Linked DNA regions of Homo sapiens: all the other regions are linked to region 1. Evidence: promoter capture Hi-C in 16 types of primary human blood cells and fetal thymus (Javierre and others, 2016). All regions are on one chromosome and are shown on one strand. The core of a region is centred on a gene start or on the middle of the fragment in contact, and the rest is flanking DNA. Distances in the headings are between cores, read along the strand shown. Region 1 holds the start of DEDD (death effector domain containing). Region 2 holds the start of DCAF8 (DDB1 and CUL4 associated factor 8). Region 3 holds the start of PEX19 (peroxisomal biogenesis factor 19). Region 4 overlaps VANGL2 (VANGL planar cell polarity protein 2). Region 5 holds the start of CD84-AS1 (CD84 antisense RNA 1).

What was found. Contacts are between HindIII fragments. The CHiCAGO score rates a contact against its expected background, and 5 or more counts as called.
Region 2: a contact is called between the fragment with the promoter of DCAF8 here and the fragment with the promoter of DEDD in region 1, in 2 of 17 cell types (non-activated CD4 T cells and total CD4 T cells). The highest score is 8.0, in non-activated CD4 T cells.
Region 3: the fragment with the promoter of PEX19 here is called in contact with the fragment with the promoter of DEDD in region 1 in 5 of 17 cell types (non-activated CD4 T cells, fetal thymus, total CD4 T cells and 2 more); the score reaches 7.5 in non-activated CD4 T cells.
Region 4: a fragment that was not itself captured here is called in contact with the fragment with the promoter of DEDD in region 1 in 1 of 17 cell types (fetal thymus); the score reaches 5.1 in fetal thymus.
Region 5: the fragment with the promoter of CD84-AS1 here is called in contact with the fragment with the promoter of DEDD in region 1 in 11 of 17 cell types (total B cells, total CD4 T cells, naive B cells and 8 more); the score reaches 16.7 in total B cells.

What each region holds. Positions count from the first base shown.
Region 1 is chr1:161,131,350-161,134,113 of GRCh38, reverse strand. DEDD (death effector domain containing) reads left to right here and starts at 1,447. Exons shown (of 6, transcript NM_032998.3): 1 at 1,447-1,563. RefSeq lists enhancers at 983-1,292, 1,754-2,577 and silencers at 1,313-1,662, 1,713-1,932. The HindIII fragment of the contact is 8,185 bases long and covers 1-2,764 here.
Region 2 is chr1:160,261,128-160,263,891 of GRCh38, reverse strand. It overlaps DCAF8 (DDB1 and CUL4 associated factor 8), which reads left to right and starts at 1,343. Exons shown (of 14, transcript NM_015726.4): 1 at 1,343-1,443; 2 at 2,534-2,607. DCAF8-DT (DCAF8 divergent transcript) reads right to left here and starts at 2,143. Exons shown (of 2, transcript NR_147618.1): 1 at 1,970-2,143; 2 at 1,114-1,491. RefSeq lists enhancers at 1,259-1,528, 2,159-2,288, 1,460-2,408. The HindIII fragment of the contact is 7,814 bases long and covers 1-2,764 here.
Region 3 is chr1:160,283,797-160,286,560 of GRCh38, reverse strand. It overlaps PEX19 (peroxisomal biogenesis factor 19), which reads left to right and starts at 1,428. Exons shown (of 8, transcript NM_002857.4): 1 at 1,428-1,506. The coding sequence starts at 1,437. LOC107985219 (a long non-coding RNA gene) reads right to left here and starts at 2,196. Exons shown (of 3, transcript XR_001738265.2): 1 at 1,706-2,196; 2 at 200-244. The HindIII fragment of the contact is 4,290 bases long and covers 1,294-2,764 here.
Region 4 is chr1:160,401,598-160,404,361 of GRCh38, reverse strand. The region is part of intron 1 of VANGL2 (VANGL planar cell polarity protein 2); the gene reads right to left. The region is part of intron 3 of LOC105371466 (a long non-coding RNA gene); the gene reads left to right. Among named protein-coding and RNA genes, the nearest start is that of VANGL2, 2.4 kb to the right of the region's middle. The HindIII fragment of the contact is 1,292 bases long and covers 747-2,038 here.
Region 5 is chr1:160,535,672-160,538,435 of GRCh38, reverse strand. CD84-AS1 (CD84 antisense RNA 1) reads right to left here and starts at 1,340. Exons shown (of 2, transcript NR_188634.1): 1 at 1,249-1,340. The HindIII fragment of the contact is 1,945 bases long and covers 279-2,223 here.

The DNA.
Region 1 (2,764 bases), core at 198-2,697:
GTAGCTGGGATTACCGGCATGTGCAACCACACCCATCTAATTTTTTTTGTATTTTTAGAAGAGACAGGGTTTCACCATGTTGGTCAGGCTGGTCTCGAACTCCTGGCCTCAAGTGATCCACCCGCCTCGGCCTCCCAAAGCTAGGATTACAGGTGTGAGTCACCATGCCCGGCCCTGATGTATATATTTTAGTTAGCATTTTACTATATCTCTGTTACACTAAACGCTTTCACCAGTTTCCTTGATAGTTCTCTATGGTTTTCTTCTTTCCTTTCGGTTTGCCCCTTCTCAGTGTTCTTTTCGGCTTCCCTCATCCTATCCCGCAAATGCAGGTATCCTCTCCAGCCCACTTCATGGCTTCAACAGCTATCTATATGCACACGCACACACACCTCAAACCTTTCTTTTGAGTTCCCAACCCACATTAGCTAATATCCCAGGGGCACCTAAAACTCATTATCTCCCCCCTAAACGAGAAAGAAACTGGTATCATTATTCCCCAGTTGTCCAAGTCACAACATTCGTACCTCTTAAACCAATCTGTATCTCCCCATCCGCACTCTCCCTTCCACAGGCAGACCATCATCATCCTTGCCTGGAAAAGAGCCTCACAACTGCTCTCCTTGATTCTCCTCAATTCATTCATCCTTCACACTGCACGCAGCGATCTAAAATGCAAATGAAATTGTTCACACCTCTGCTGAGATTCTTCAAAGACTTTTCATTGCCTTAAGGATAAAAATCAATTAATTTACAAGGCTTCGCATAATCTGGTCTTCCCCTATCTATTACCACTTTCTTAAGCCACACCAGAACGTACCCGCACCATCCTCCCCACCCCCAATTCCCAACAGCCCTACACGGATCAGCTAGGCGACACTTCCTACAGGAAACCGGCGTTCAAAAGGTAAATGCTGAACAAATGAATTCCGAGACGGGATCTGGGCACCACTTTCGGCTCCGGATCCGGGTTTACGGAACGTCCGGGTTATCAGGAAGCTCAGAGGAAAGGTGAAATCCAGATCTTGACCCTTCACTCAAGTTCGCCAGACAAACCGATCCCCGTGGTATTCCGCCCTTATGAGTCATGGCTGCCAATCCCAGCCTTCCAGTGGGTCTTGAAGTCGCCACCAGCCAGCTGTGGCGCCACCAATGTTTCCCATTCAAGAATGCTATCCTCTTCGATCCCTTATTACCGCCCTAAGCAGCCGTCAAGACAAACCGGCGTTGCCAGCTTGCCCCAAAGCAAGATGGCTGCCAATCTCTATCTCTCCTCCCGAAGTGAAGCTATCCACTCCCCGATTAATGCCGCTGCCAGGCTGCCCTCACTTACTATGGCTACTCCGGCTCATGTCTCACTATGGCCTCGAAGCCGCCACTAACCGGCCGGGTTCCGGGAGGCGCCGTTCAGGATGCAGCCACCCCCGCCCGCCTGTCCCCTCCCCCACGGCCGCGGCGGCGGCGGCGGCGGCGGCTGCTGGAGCCCGGATGCGGCGCCGTGAGGCAGGCCCGGGAGAGCGGCGCGGATGGATCCAACATGGCGGCGCCGAGCCTGAGCCGAGAGTGAGGCGGAGGGGCGGCCGGAGTGGGGAGAGGGAGTCGAGCGGGACGGGGCGGGGCCGGGCGGGGCCGCAAAGGGCTTGGGGAAGGAAAGTGGAGGGGGAGGCGGTGGCGACGTCCAGCCTGAGAACCTCAAGAGAGGGAGGTGACGGGACGCTGAGAGGTGGGGGAGGGGAGCTGCCGAGGGGGGCGTGCAGGGGAGATGGCAACTGCGGGAGAGGGCAGGGGTCGAGACGGAGGAGTGAGGGCATGGGGAGGGGCGTAAACAAGGGCTGAGACTGGGCCCAGCCAGGGGTATTAGAGAGGCCGAGGTGGGGAGTGGGGCTGCGATCCGCTCGTATTGAAGGGGGTAGGAGCAGGAGGGAGAGGCTGAGGGTGTGAAGGGGAAGGGGGCTGTGGCATGTGGTTGGAGGGAGGACTGGACTCTGATGAGGGGTGTTGCGAGGAGGTGGGTAAAGGTCAGAATTGGAGTTAAGACGTTTCTGGGGGGCTTCGAAAGTGTTAAATTGGAGGTGGGAGGGGGAAGGGCCTAGGGGAGAATTTGGGTGGAAAAGGAGAGAACGGAGGCTTGGGGAATGGAGAGAGTGTCGGTGGGAGGAGGTAATGGAGAAAGTGAGAGACTGGGAGGAAGAAAGTTTGGGAGGAAGGGGAGTGGAATGGGAGATAGGACAGTGGAGCTGCACGGGTGATAGAGGTTCGGGGGTTTCCCTTTCCCCGGTGGAGAGGAGGAGAGAACAGAGTTAAGCAGCATCAGTTGCAGCCAATTCTAATTGCCAGGCCCTTAGCTTTTAAGAGGGTGGGAAGGGCAGAAGGGAATGGTCATGTGGGTTTGCAGAATTGGGGTTGGATGAGAATTCAACTGGGTTTGTTTTCCAAAAGACTCCCTAGCTTACTGTTCCCTTGTTTTTCCTGCTTGGGAAAATGGGGAAGCCGGTGTCGCCCAAGTGTGGAGGAGCAAAGGACTTTTCTAGTTTTTAGCATTAGCAATACAAGAGTGGGGGAGCAGACATGGCTATATTGGAACCCTATATGCTAAGGTGGAGGCTCTGGAAGTCTGAGGAGGGAAAGAGAAAAGATAGAGTGGCATCTAGACAGGTTAATTAAATGAGTGCTGTAGTTTCCAGACCCTTTTGCTGTTTTAAGTCTGGAAGGGAGGGGGTAACATGGATACTGTATGTAGAAAAACTTTTCCCTGGTGAAACAT
Region 2 (2,764 bases), core at 94-2,593, 870 kb after region 1:
CTAGGGCTGGGACATGCTTTGACTGGAGTGACAGTAAGGCTAGTGAGGCTAGAGCAGAGCTAGGCAGTGTGGGAGGAGATGAATCAGATAAATAGGCAGGTGCTAGATCAGATCATGTAGGGTCCTCCTTAGAGGCAATTCATTTTTTGATGGCCTCTAAGGCTATCATACTTTTGACTTTTATTATGTGATGGGAATTGGAGGTTTTGAGCAGGGTGGGGACTGGGGAAATAATACGACATTACTTTTTTTTTGAGACGGAGTCTCATTCCATTGCCCAGCCTGGAGTGCAGTGGTGCGATCTCAGCTCACTGCAACCTCCGCCTCCGGGTTCAAGCAATTCTCCTGCCTCAGCCTCCCAAGTAGCTGGGATTGCAGGCGCGCTCCACCATGCCGGGTAATTTTTTTTTTTTTTTGTATTTTTCGTAGAGACGGGTTTCACCATGTTGGCCTGGTTTCAAACGAGTTTCGAACTCCTGACCTCAAGTGATCCGCCCACATCCGCCTCCCAAAGTGCTAGGATTACAGGCATGAGCCACCGCGCCCGGCCAGACCTTACATTTTTAAAAAGCACTCTGGCTGCCTTATGTTTAACTGTAATGGCAATAATGGAAGTAGACAAACGAGGTAAGTTTCTATTGCGGTAGTCTTAAGTAATATGTAATGACTTGGAATAGGAGAGTAGCGGTAGGGGAGGTGAGAAAGGGTCAGATTTTTGCACCCTGGGCTTCTGGTAAGAAAAAAAAAAAAAATACCCCAGCCTGGCAGCTGGGAGTAATCCTCTGCAGGGTTACTGTAGGTGTCATAACGAAACAGAGTACAAAAGTCACCCCACATCACCCGGCCCACTCTTGGGAACCTTTACCCACACCACCTCTCTTCAGAAAAGAGCTTCTGGAATAGCTACACCTCAAGCTACTGAGCCCCTTCTTTAAAAATACGTAAATGGGGACTCTCAGGGGAAAATGGGCCTCGATAGTATAGAAACCACTTAAGGAAACAAAGCCCTGAAAGGAAACGGGGATTTTCAGAAGAAATCCTTGTGGCAATCATTGCTCGTTCCAGTGTTCAAAAACGGCAAAACTGGCCATCATCCAGGAAGTGGCCTGCCAATCCGCTGGAAATTTAGTTTATTTCTATCACAACTCTGGGTAGCCCCTAACTCGCATTTGTTTAGAGTATCACAAGATAAGCAAGCCCGAAGAAACTACAAAAACAACTTTGCCTCTTCGGTAATGCGCAGGCGCCTCTCGCTCTGTTTTCCGTTGGCCTTAAGCCCCGCCCCTTGTGCGTCCTTCGAGGAGGGTTGCGAGCCGTGAGCTCGCGCGACCACTCTTCCCTCAGTCTTCTCGAGCACATCGTCGCAAACGGGGCCGGAAAGCGTGGCAGCGCAGGCGCAAGCGCAGAGAGCGGAGGCGGTGGTGGTGGCGGCCGCTGGCCAGTGTAAGATGGCGGCGGCGTTGGTGGTGGCAGTGGACGGGGCGGCTGGGCCTGGAACAGTCGGAGCAGCCGCTAGCAGAAGGATGACCCAAGACGGGAAGCGGGCTGCTGAGCCTCGCCGATTCCCGTGCTTGTAACTGCCCCAGCCGGACACCCCCCCTCCCTTGACCTACCCGGTCTGTGTCTCGTTCCGGCTCGGCCTGCGCCCCCCCTCGCTTCCCAGCCGGTTTCCCCTAAGGATGGGCCTGACCCGTATCCCAAGCTCTTAGCGCTCAGGTCTTTTCCTTCCGCCGACCCGAAGTCATCGCTGGGAGTACTGGTTGCCCTTTCCTCAGGTCAGCCCTGGTGTTGCCCCCAAGAGCCAGCCGCACAGTTCACAGGGACGCCTTGCTTCGTTGGGTGACCCATGTGTGCGCTCCTATTTCTCCCCTTAGATTGAGGGACACGGCTCGCCCTGCGTCTCCCCGTCACCTCAGGGCCACCGCGCAATGTGTCCCCCTCCCCCATCCCAAGTTCCCAGGCCCAGCACCTTGTACGGAAGGCGGAGGTCCAAGAATTCCGGAGTCGGTTGTTGTCTTGTGGTCTTGTACCCTTTGTAATATAATTATCTTAGTTTACCTCCTCTAACTCCCAAATCTTTTAGGATATCTTAGAACGGTCCCATTTGGTCCCTGTTAGTTGGAAAGCATCTGGTGGCTTGAATTTCTGACTCATGATTGTTACTGGAGTCTCTGTAAACAAACCGGCACTAGCGCTATCACATTCTCTCCGGGATTTCCCCCCCTGCTCTGTGGCTTCTTGTTGAGAGGTTGTTTGGTTATGGTTTAGCGTTGAAAAGATTCAGGTTATCCTTTTAAATGACTTTACGTTTTAGTGGAGCTGGGAGATTACTTGCCTGGCTTCTAATCTTCATGTTGGTTCATTTTATTTCCATATGTGTGTGGGTTATTTGTTCAGTAATTAGAATTAGATAAAGTATTCTGCTTTTAAGTAGTTTTGAGAAGGCCTAAAAATACTAAAGTGTATTCATAAATATTTTTATTATGTTCAGTAGAAGACACACCTTTGCCATGTAAATTTTAACTTTTCTCAGTCCTTCAGTGAATCTACAGACCTATTTTCTCAGGAGCTCAGCCTGGCCTTACTTCAGTGATAAAAGGAGGAAAGGTGAGTGGGAGTTGGAGGCATTAAAATTCTTGAGTTCAAGACAGACTGCGCTGATGCTCAACTGCTGACCACTAAAGTCATAAAATTCCTACCAGTTTCCCAAAGAGCTTGAGTGTTGTTCTTGGCTTTGTTCCAGCTCTGGTTGAATTACTTTTAC
Region 3 (2,764 bases), core at 179-2,678, 850 kb after region 1:
ACCTCCGGCTCACCCCCACTTAGCTACCTTACAGCAGGGGGTGGTCCTGATTTATCTCTCTGTCCTCACTGTGCCCAGAACAAGACCTTAATAATAGGTGCTCTCTAAGTGCGAAAACAGATTTGTATGTGAAACAGTTGCTACATTCTGACATCTGAATAGAACAATTCCAAAGGAGGAAAGGGACGTCTAGAGTTACCTCTATCTGAGCATTCCCCGTGTTCACTCAGTTGGAGGTTGGGTTCTGTGTGGAGAAAAGGAGATTGTTCAGGGAAAGTAAGTCTATTACTACTGCATTCGAATTGCCCTGCTCAGTCCAAGGTACCAGAGGCTCTCTTAATAACATGGAGTTCTAAGTTCCTGGCCGGCCCTGTGTCCTTTAATCAAACAGTTCTAATAGATAATAGGAAATGAGAGATGCCACTAGATTGGGCAGACAGATGTGCCTGATTAGGGACTGCGAGAGCAAAGAGTGGCCAATGAATGCCTACTAAGTTTTAAACCCTAGCCTGGGAGTTGGGCTTTACAGCAGTGAAGACAACAGACGAAAATCTTTGCGTTCATGGTGTTTAAATTCTGCAGGGTGGGGAGCGGAGAATAAAAAAGTACGGTAGATAGTATGTCAGATACTGTTCAGTGTTAGGAAGAAAAGGAACGGGAATGGCCAAGGAAAGCGTTTCAGAAAAGATAATATTTGAGGGAAACAATGAAGTGAAGCCGGGCGCAGTGGCTCACGCCTGTAATCCCAGCACTTCGGGAGGCCGAGGTGGGCGGATCAGCTGAGGTCCGGAGTTCGAGACCAGCCTGGCCAACCAGCCTGGCCAACATGTTAAAACCCCGTCTCTACAAAAATTAGTCGGACGTGGTGTCGCGCGCCTGTCATCCCAGCTACACGGGAGGCTGAGGCAGGAAGAATCGCTTGAACCCGGGAGGCCAAGGCTGCAGTGAGCCGAGATGGCGCCACTGCATTCCAGCGTAGGCGACAGAGCAAGATTCCTTCTCAAAAAAAAATAAAAAAAAAAAAATGAAGTGAGAGAAAGTAGTATGTTATGTGCCATAATTGTCATATCAATTATATATGTTTAGATTCTGGTTATTTGTAGGCAGTTTGTCTCAATCTGGCCTACTCACAGCTCAGGAAAAAATAATGAAAGAGCTTCGCCAGGTAATTTGGGAAGTTGAAAGAAAGGAGTCCGGGCCTCTAAAACCAGACAGAAAATAACCCTATCTTATCCCTAATTCTGTTTCACAGGAGAAAAGGGAAAAATACCCAAAACACAAACACTCAAAGCTTCCTGGCCCTTTAAAAATGGCGGTTCCGCACTGGTCAACAATACCATTGGTTACCCGAGGCAGAAGAGGGCGGGAGCGAAGGGGTGGAGGGCGTGTCGGCACCGAGGAGGTCCCGCCTCCTACGGCAAGTCGGAGGTAGCAAGATGGCCGCCGCTGAGGAAGGCTGTAGTGTCGGGGCCGAAGCGGACAGGGAATTGGAGGAGCTTCTGGAAAGTAAGAGCCCATAGTGGGAAAGGCCCGAAGAGGGCACGTGTGAGGACCCATTCTGGGGGTTAAGTGAACCTGAGATATTAGGGACGGGCAGGAGAGGCTCTCCAAAGGTTAAATGGGGGCGGAGAGTCTGACCCCCGAGCCCCCCAAAAATCTCTGGGTCATCCTGCCCCACCCCGGCGACTGGAGCTGGGGAGCTCACCTGGGGTCCCTCAGTGGTCCGGATGGTGGATGTTTCCGCAGGACGGCGTTTCATGATACCTCTTCAAACTCCTCTTTAGGTTACTGAGTTCTTAAAGTTCGACTTCAGCAGCAGTAGCAGCAGCAGCAGCATTTGGTTCTTGCTGGGTAGCGAACTACGCACTCACTGATTGCTTACATTAACTCCTAGCAAGCTCGTGGCCGGTCCTTGTGTGCCTCGTCCTGTCTTCCTTAACACGAAAGACACTTTTCTCCTCCTAGTCCTTTTCTCTTTCTCTCGTTAGGCCCCTTAACAGTTCTTTCATCTTGTCAGTAGCTCAAGCGGACTCCTTTCCCTTATTTTGAGAAACTGAGGATGTGGCGATTTCAGGGGAAAGCAGTTCACCCTCCTGAAAGACGGGGGATGTTTTCTTAGCATTACTCTCCACTCCCCTGTTGACTTCCTGCCCAGAGTAGGGCCAGTGCTCTCTCCCTAGGCCTGGCGAACAGAATGGTGGTGAGGACACAGGCTTTTCAGGGCAGAGGTGAATTTGTAATCGCTTGCTCAATCACGGAGATGTGGGCAGGCAGAAAAATGAACAGAAACCCTGAGGAGTGCCAAGTGACTGTGTAAATTAGTGTACGGTTATCTGCAGAGATCAGGCCAAAGGGAGCTCTAGAAGGTTGTTGGGGAGCACTAAACTGGAGAATAAGAGAAGATAGTTTAATGCCGTACCATGGAGTCTGGTATGTAGTCCCTCAGTCTGTGCTGGTACCAGTACCAACAGGAAGCTGGGTGGGATGTCCTGTGCTTTCTCACCAAGTTATTCCTTTTAGAGCTCCAGAGTGAGTTCAGAGGGATGAGGACATCTGTGTTCTCTACTACTGTTGGGTATTTGTATGGGATTTCTAGGGAATCGTTAGGGTGTGGCAAGGGAGACACTATAGATGGAGATGTCTCTGCAGAACTTTTTAATCCTCTCCTCCCAGCTCTGAGATGGACATTTGTTCCACCTTAAGGGATTTCTTTGCCTTTGCTCACAATAAATTAGGTAATCCAGAAGGAAGTAGGAGGCTCATT
Region 4 (2,764 bases), core at 143-2,642, 730 kb after region 1:
TGGCACCTCACCCCAGGGCCAAGCACTCTTCCTCTATGCTCCAGTGGCCTCCTGAACACACCTCCACACAGCACTCACTGGGCTGCAGTGAATCAACATGTTTTCACATGTCTCCCCTGGGAAAACATCTTATTTGCCCCTCCATCCCCTGTGCTTCACACTGTGCCTGGCAGATAGGAGAGAGTGCCTAATGTGGTCGGCCAAAGGAAGATCAGAACCAAAGCCTAGTTCTCCTATCCCGACTCCGACCTCTCTCCCTTAATGATGATTATCCCTCAGAATCCGAACCATCCAGCTAACATTTACTATGTGCCAGGAACTGTGCAACGTGCTTTCTCTATTATTTCATTTAATCCTCATAACCCCAAGAAGTAGGGCCTATTATTAATTCCATTTTACAGGTGAGGCTTCAAAAAGTTACCAGTTTTGTCTGATGTCACGGAATTAGACAGTGGCAAAGCCAGAATTTAAAAGCAAACCAGGGAAGAAAGCCACTTGGTGGGGGACCAGGGATTCCTTGTGGAAGGGCTCAGTCTAGGCTTGGAGGATGTGCCTTAAGACACCTAAGAGGCTGGGGAATGGGGTTTATTACTTGCCCAGATCACACCACTGTTAAGTACTAATTCCAACCAACTCTGACTCCTTTCTCTGGCCTCACAATGTGATGAACACTTGAGGGAAGGAGAAGACTGGAGTTCCCTAAAACTCAGAGGGGATCAGATCTCTTCCTTTTCCCTGCCAAAGCTTCTGTTAGTCAAGTTCCCTCCCCATTAACTGGAAGGACCTGGAAACCAGATGAGCAGATAAAAAACTGTCCTGCTCTAGGGCCAGGGAAGGGGGGATATTTCCTCAGATCTAAAAGGATCAGGAGGAGAGGCAAACACACCAGAGAGGCCTGCCCCGGAAGAATTAGAGGAAATAGAAGTCAGGAGCAAGACAATGGGTGAGGAGGGGCCAACGTGGCCACTGACTCCCAATCTGGAAGTACTTTCAGAAATGGCATTTCCTATTATCTGACCACAATTCCTCCTCTTTGGAAGAGAGCCCCCACCAGCATAATATATCATGCATGTGATCAGCGTATACAGAGCAAACAAGGGACCCCAGAGGGCCAGGGCACACCATCTTAGATGCAAGTGCCTTACTAGCCCTGGGAGCCCTAACTATCAGACAGGTGTTGGGTTTGGGGGAATGATCCATTAAAAAAAAAAAAAGGTCTTTTAAAGGTCTTTTCCTACTCTGCCCCGTTCCCCGTTCCTCGTTCAAACATTTTCTAACCCCTACTACTCTTATCTCCAGGCCTTAGGGAGGGTAGGGAGCCCTGAGGACTAAAGAGGGAACATTCCAATTGCACATGCCCATTAGAGACTCTAACATTCCAATTGCAATTGCCCAGAGACCATAATGGGTATGTACAATCTCACCTCAGCTCTTAAAACTGGGTGCCTCAACCCAGCCACTGGCAGCAAAAAGAGTGTGCAATGGGGGAAGGCTAGTATCCTAAAGAAGGAGGTGAGCAACCCCTTTCCTATACCCCAAAAGAGAAAGGATGAGAGAGGACAGGGAGAGAAGGGAGCTGTGGCTTCTTGGTGGAAAGAGACATTCACTTCCTGGATAGTCACTGACTTCCCACCACACTATCATGATGATGAGTATAGCAGTATAGCCTGCAATGGGTACCTGGCCCTTTCCCGACACACAGACACTCAGCCCTGGCCCCACACCCACAGCTCCATCTCAATCATGCTTGACACCAGGGAAAAGGGAAACTTTTTGGTCTGATAAACCACACAGACTCACTTGCAAAAGCTGCTGAAGAAACACCCTATGCCACCTTCTCAACCCCATGGGCAGGGAACCCAAGCTGTTCCCCACCAGGTCTCAACCCTCCAGACATGCTTCCTCCTCTTGTTTCCATCCCACACCAAAATCTCAAGACTCCTCAGGAACTTTAGGATCTTAGAGTCAGGGCAGAGTTAGAAGGCTATGAAGCAGCAAACTCTGAGACGGCTTTCCAAGAGAACTGTGGCCTGAAGCTTTTACCTAAGGCTGGGAATCCAAGAGTGTAGCTTCTCCAAGCGCTGGAACCCAGCCTATGACGATGGGGGAGGAAGTTCCTCTTATTCTTCTCCCTGACCCCGCCAATCTTCCAAATTCCTCTAGGACTACAACCAGACCCCTTGTTCCCTATTCCCCACAACACACGCCCTCTTCCAGAAAAACCCATCCCCCAAAAACAGGCACTTCATAAGACAACTCATTCCCTCCCACCCATAGGTCTCAGATACTTAAGGTACTACCCCTAAACCCAGGCGAGGCCATCCACGAAGTCTCAAAATCCTGCAGACAGCCTTCTTTTCGGGATTTTTGCCAGGAAAATCTGCCTGCAGAGTCTAGAGGTACCCCCGACACACACTCAGAAACATACATACCAGCTAAGGCAGGCACACACATTGATACCCATCAACACAGGTTACACACAAGAGAACACAGATTCACACCCCTTCCCAGTACACAGGTGCACACACACCTATCCACATACACTCCATTCTGCTCTTACACACCCACCTTCCTCAGTACCTACACACCTCTTTCCCGTGAACCCCTCTCCCAGTACACACACATAGACATACACGCCCTCCCCTAAGTATACATATAAACACATATCCAAACACACAGCAGATGCATGGTCAGCCGCTCCCTGGGTGCACACACACTCAAGCACAGAAAAACACCTACACATCCAAACCAGGGGCCCACCTGC
Region 5 (2,764 bases), core at 91-2,590, 600 kb after region 1:
CACTCCAGCCTGGGCAACAGAGCAAGACTCTTTCTCAAAAGAAAGAAAAGAAAGAAAAAAAAAAGAAAAGGAAAGGAAAGAAAGAAAGAGAGAGAGAAAGTTAGTTTATAATTAGAAGAAATTCTTTAACCTGAAAAAAAATGGAAAGATATTCAGTGGTCTAATTGCCAAAAGTGTACCAGCCTAGATGGTCTTAAGGGCTAGTCCTATCACCTACAATGAAAGGATAATTCCCAGTCATCTTAACTGTCCCAAGGCATAGAAAACAGTGGGAAGCTTCCAAATTCATTAAATACTATAATATAACACTGATTCCAAAGCCAGATAAGGATGATCCCCCACAAAGAGATACATAGGCCAGGAGTTAGCAAACTATGGCGTGTGGCCACATCCAGTCTGCCATCTGTTTTTATTTGACCCACGAACTAAGAATAGTTTACATTTTTAAAATGGTTGAAAAGAATTCAAAGAATAATAATATTTTGGGACATGTTAAAATTATGTGAAATTCAAATTTCAGCATCCATAAATAAAGTTTTATTGAAACACAGCCAACACGCATTCTTTTATGTGTTTATTATGGCTGCTTCCATACTACACCAGCAGAGTTGAGTAGTTGCAAAGGAGATTGTATGGTCCACAAAGTCCAATATTCACTACTGGGACCTTTACAGAAAAAGTCTGCCACATCCTGATATAGTCCAATCTCACTTATAAATATAAATGTTAAAAATCTTAAACTTCAGTCAATTTTAAAGCAATGCATTAAAAGAAAAAAAAATGCGACCAAGTAGGATTTTATCCTTAGAGTGCCAGGATGATTTATCTTTAAGAAACCATCTATTGTAATTTGCTGTTCAAACAGATTAAAGGAGATGAAAAAAATAATCATCCTGACATAGTCTACAATATATATTTGATAAAACTGAATACCCATGACTGATTTAAAAAGTTTTCAAGAAAGCTAAAAATAGAATGTGTTTTAGTCAATATCCAATTTTAAAAAACTGAGACCATGTTAAATACTGAAAACTCAACAAGCTGAATATAGGGAATTGATTCCAAAAGTGATGGAGGAGTAAAACAGGGAAGCTGAGGTTACCAAGCAATTAATAATTCCAGGAAGTTGCTATGGAACTTTGTCCCTATGGAAATTTGTCTTGGGAATCAGTGCTGCCAGCTTTCAAGATTCTAAGAGTTCACAGTCTCATCAAAACTGTGAGACTCTGGGAGACAAAAATAACTCACCACTGCAGATGCCACCATCAAAGCCTGATCCCACCAGTACCACACTAGCAAGACTTCTGACATGCTTGCTGGAACTGCACTGCTACACCAGGAACCCTGAAGCGGTACTCATCTTCTGCTATCACTGCCACTACTGAAAACATTACCAGAAACCAAGATTATGGAAAAATATATAATTTATTCCTTCCATCCAACTTTAACCAATACCACCCAGTGACAAAATCTAATCAGAAGCCATCTGACAATGGAAATGATAAATGTAGTTTGCAGACTTCTAACCTTCTGAAAAACAAGGAACACAGAAGGGTGGGAATAGAGCTGAGAGCAAATAAGCAAATGACTGGCTCGGGTTAAACTTTTACAACTTGATACAGCATATGTAGCAAACATTTATTGGAAACATTAGAGGCATTCTTAATAAAGAAATGAATACAAGTAACCATTCTTGTATTCAGTGAATACAAGATCACTGCTACTCTTCAACTGTATTGTATTGAAGATCCTTGTTAGTAAAGTGAGTCAAGAAATACATATAAGAGGCTATCTCACATCTAGAATCAGTCATTTTTCTAAGGGGCATTGGTTCTTCAGAGAGAATATTATTTATCCACCAAGATCTTGGATAATGTCACTAATTTTTAGTTACTTAAGAAATATGTGAACACATTTCTATCATCTTTTTAAAAATCAGTGTAAAAGTATAGAGATAGAGAGAGTGATGTCAGCAAAGTGGTGGACTAGGAAATTCCAAACTCTCTCTTTCCCCCAACTTAGAGTAATAAAAAAACAGCCAAACAAACAAAAAAAAACCCAAATGGTTGAATTAACCTTATAGGGACTCTGGAAAACAGTCAGAGTTTTATAACAACCAATCAAATGCCCAATGAAGAAAAAGCCACTTTTGAAATGGTAGGAAAAGTTCCATGGCATTTTTCTTGCCCTTGCCCCATCCCCTCCTCATCCCAACAGAAAGCTTGTTTAGAGGAGGCAGGAGTTCACTTCTCAGTTCCCTCTCTTGAATGGGAGGGAACATAACAGATCTTATTTGCAATATTCTAATCTGTCTTAGGAGTCCATGAAGAACTGGTCTCTATTTCACTTAATTCAGATCTCAAGTGGGAAAGTGCCACTACTATGAACCCAAAGCTATCAAAATAAAGAAAATAATAAAGATTAGACCAGAGATAAAATAGAGAAAATTAATGAACCAAAAAGTTGATTACTTAAAAGGATCAACGAAATTGGCAAATTTAGTTAGAGTGGTTATGGAAAAAAAGACAGAGTGCTCAAATTACTAAAATTGGAAATGAAAATGAGGACACTACAACCAATTTTTCAGAAATGAATAGAAGAGACTACTACAAACAAATTGGATAACATAGATGAAGTAGACACAATTTTTACAAAGACTGAATCATGAAGAAATAGAAAATCTGATTAGACCTATAACTACTAAGAATATTAAGTAAATAATTTTAAAACAACTTCCCAACAAGGAGAAGTCCTGGATCAGAAG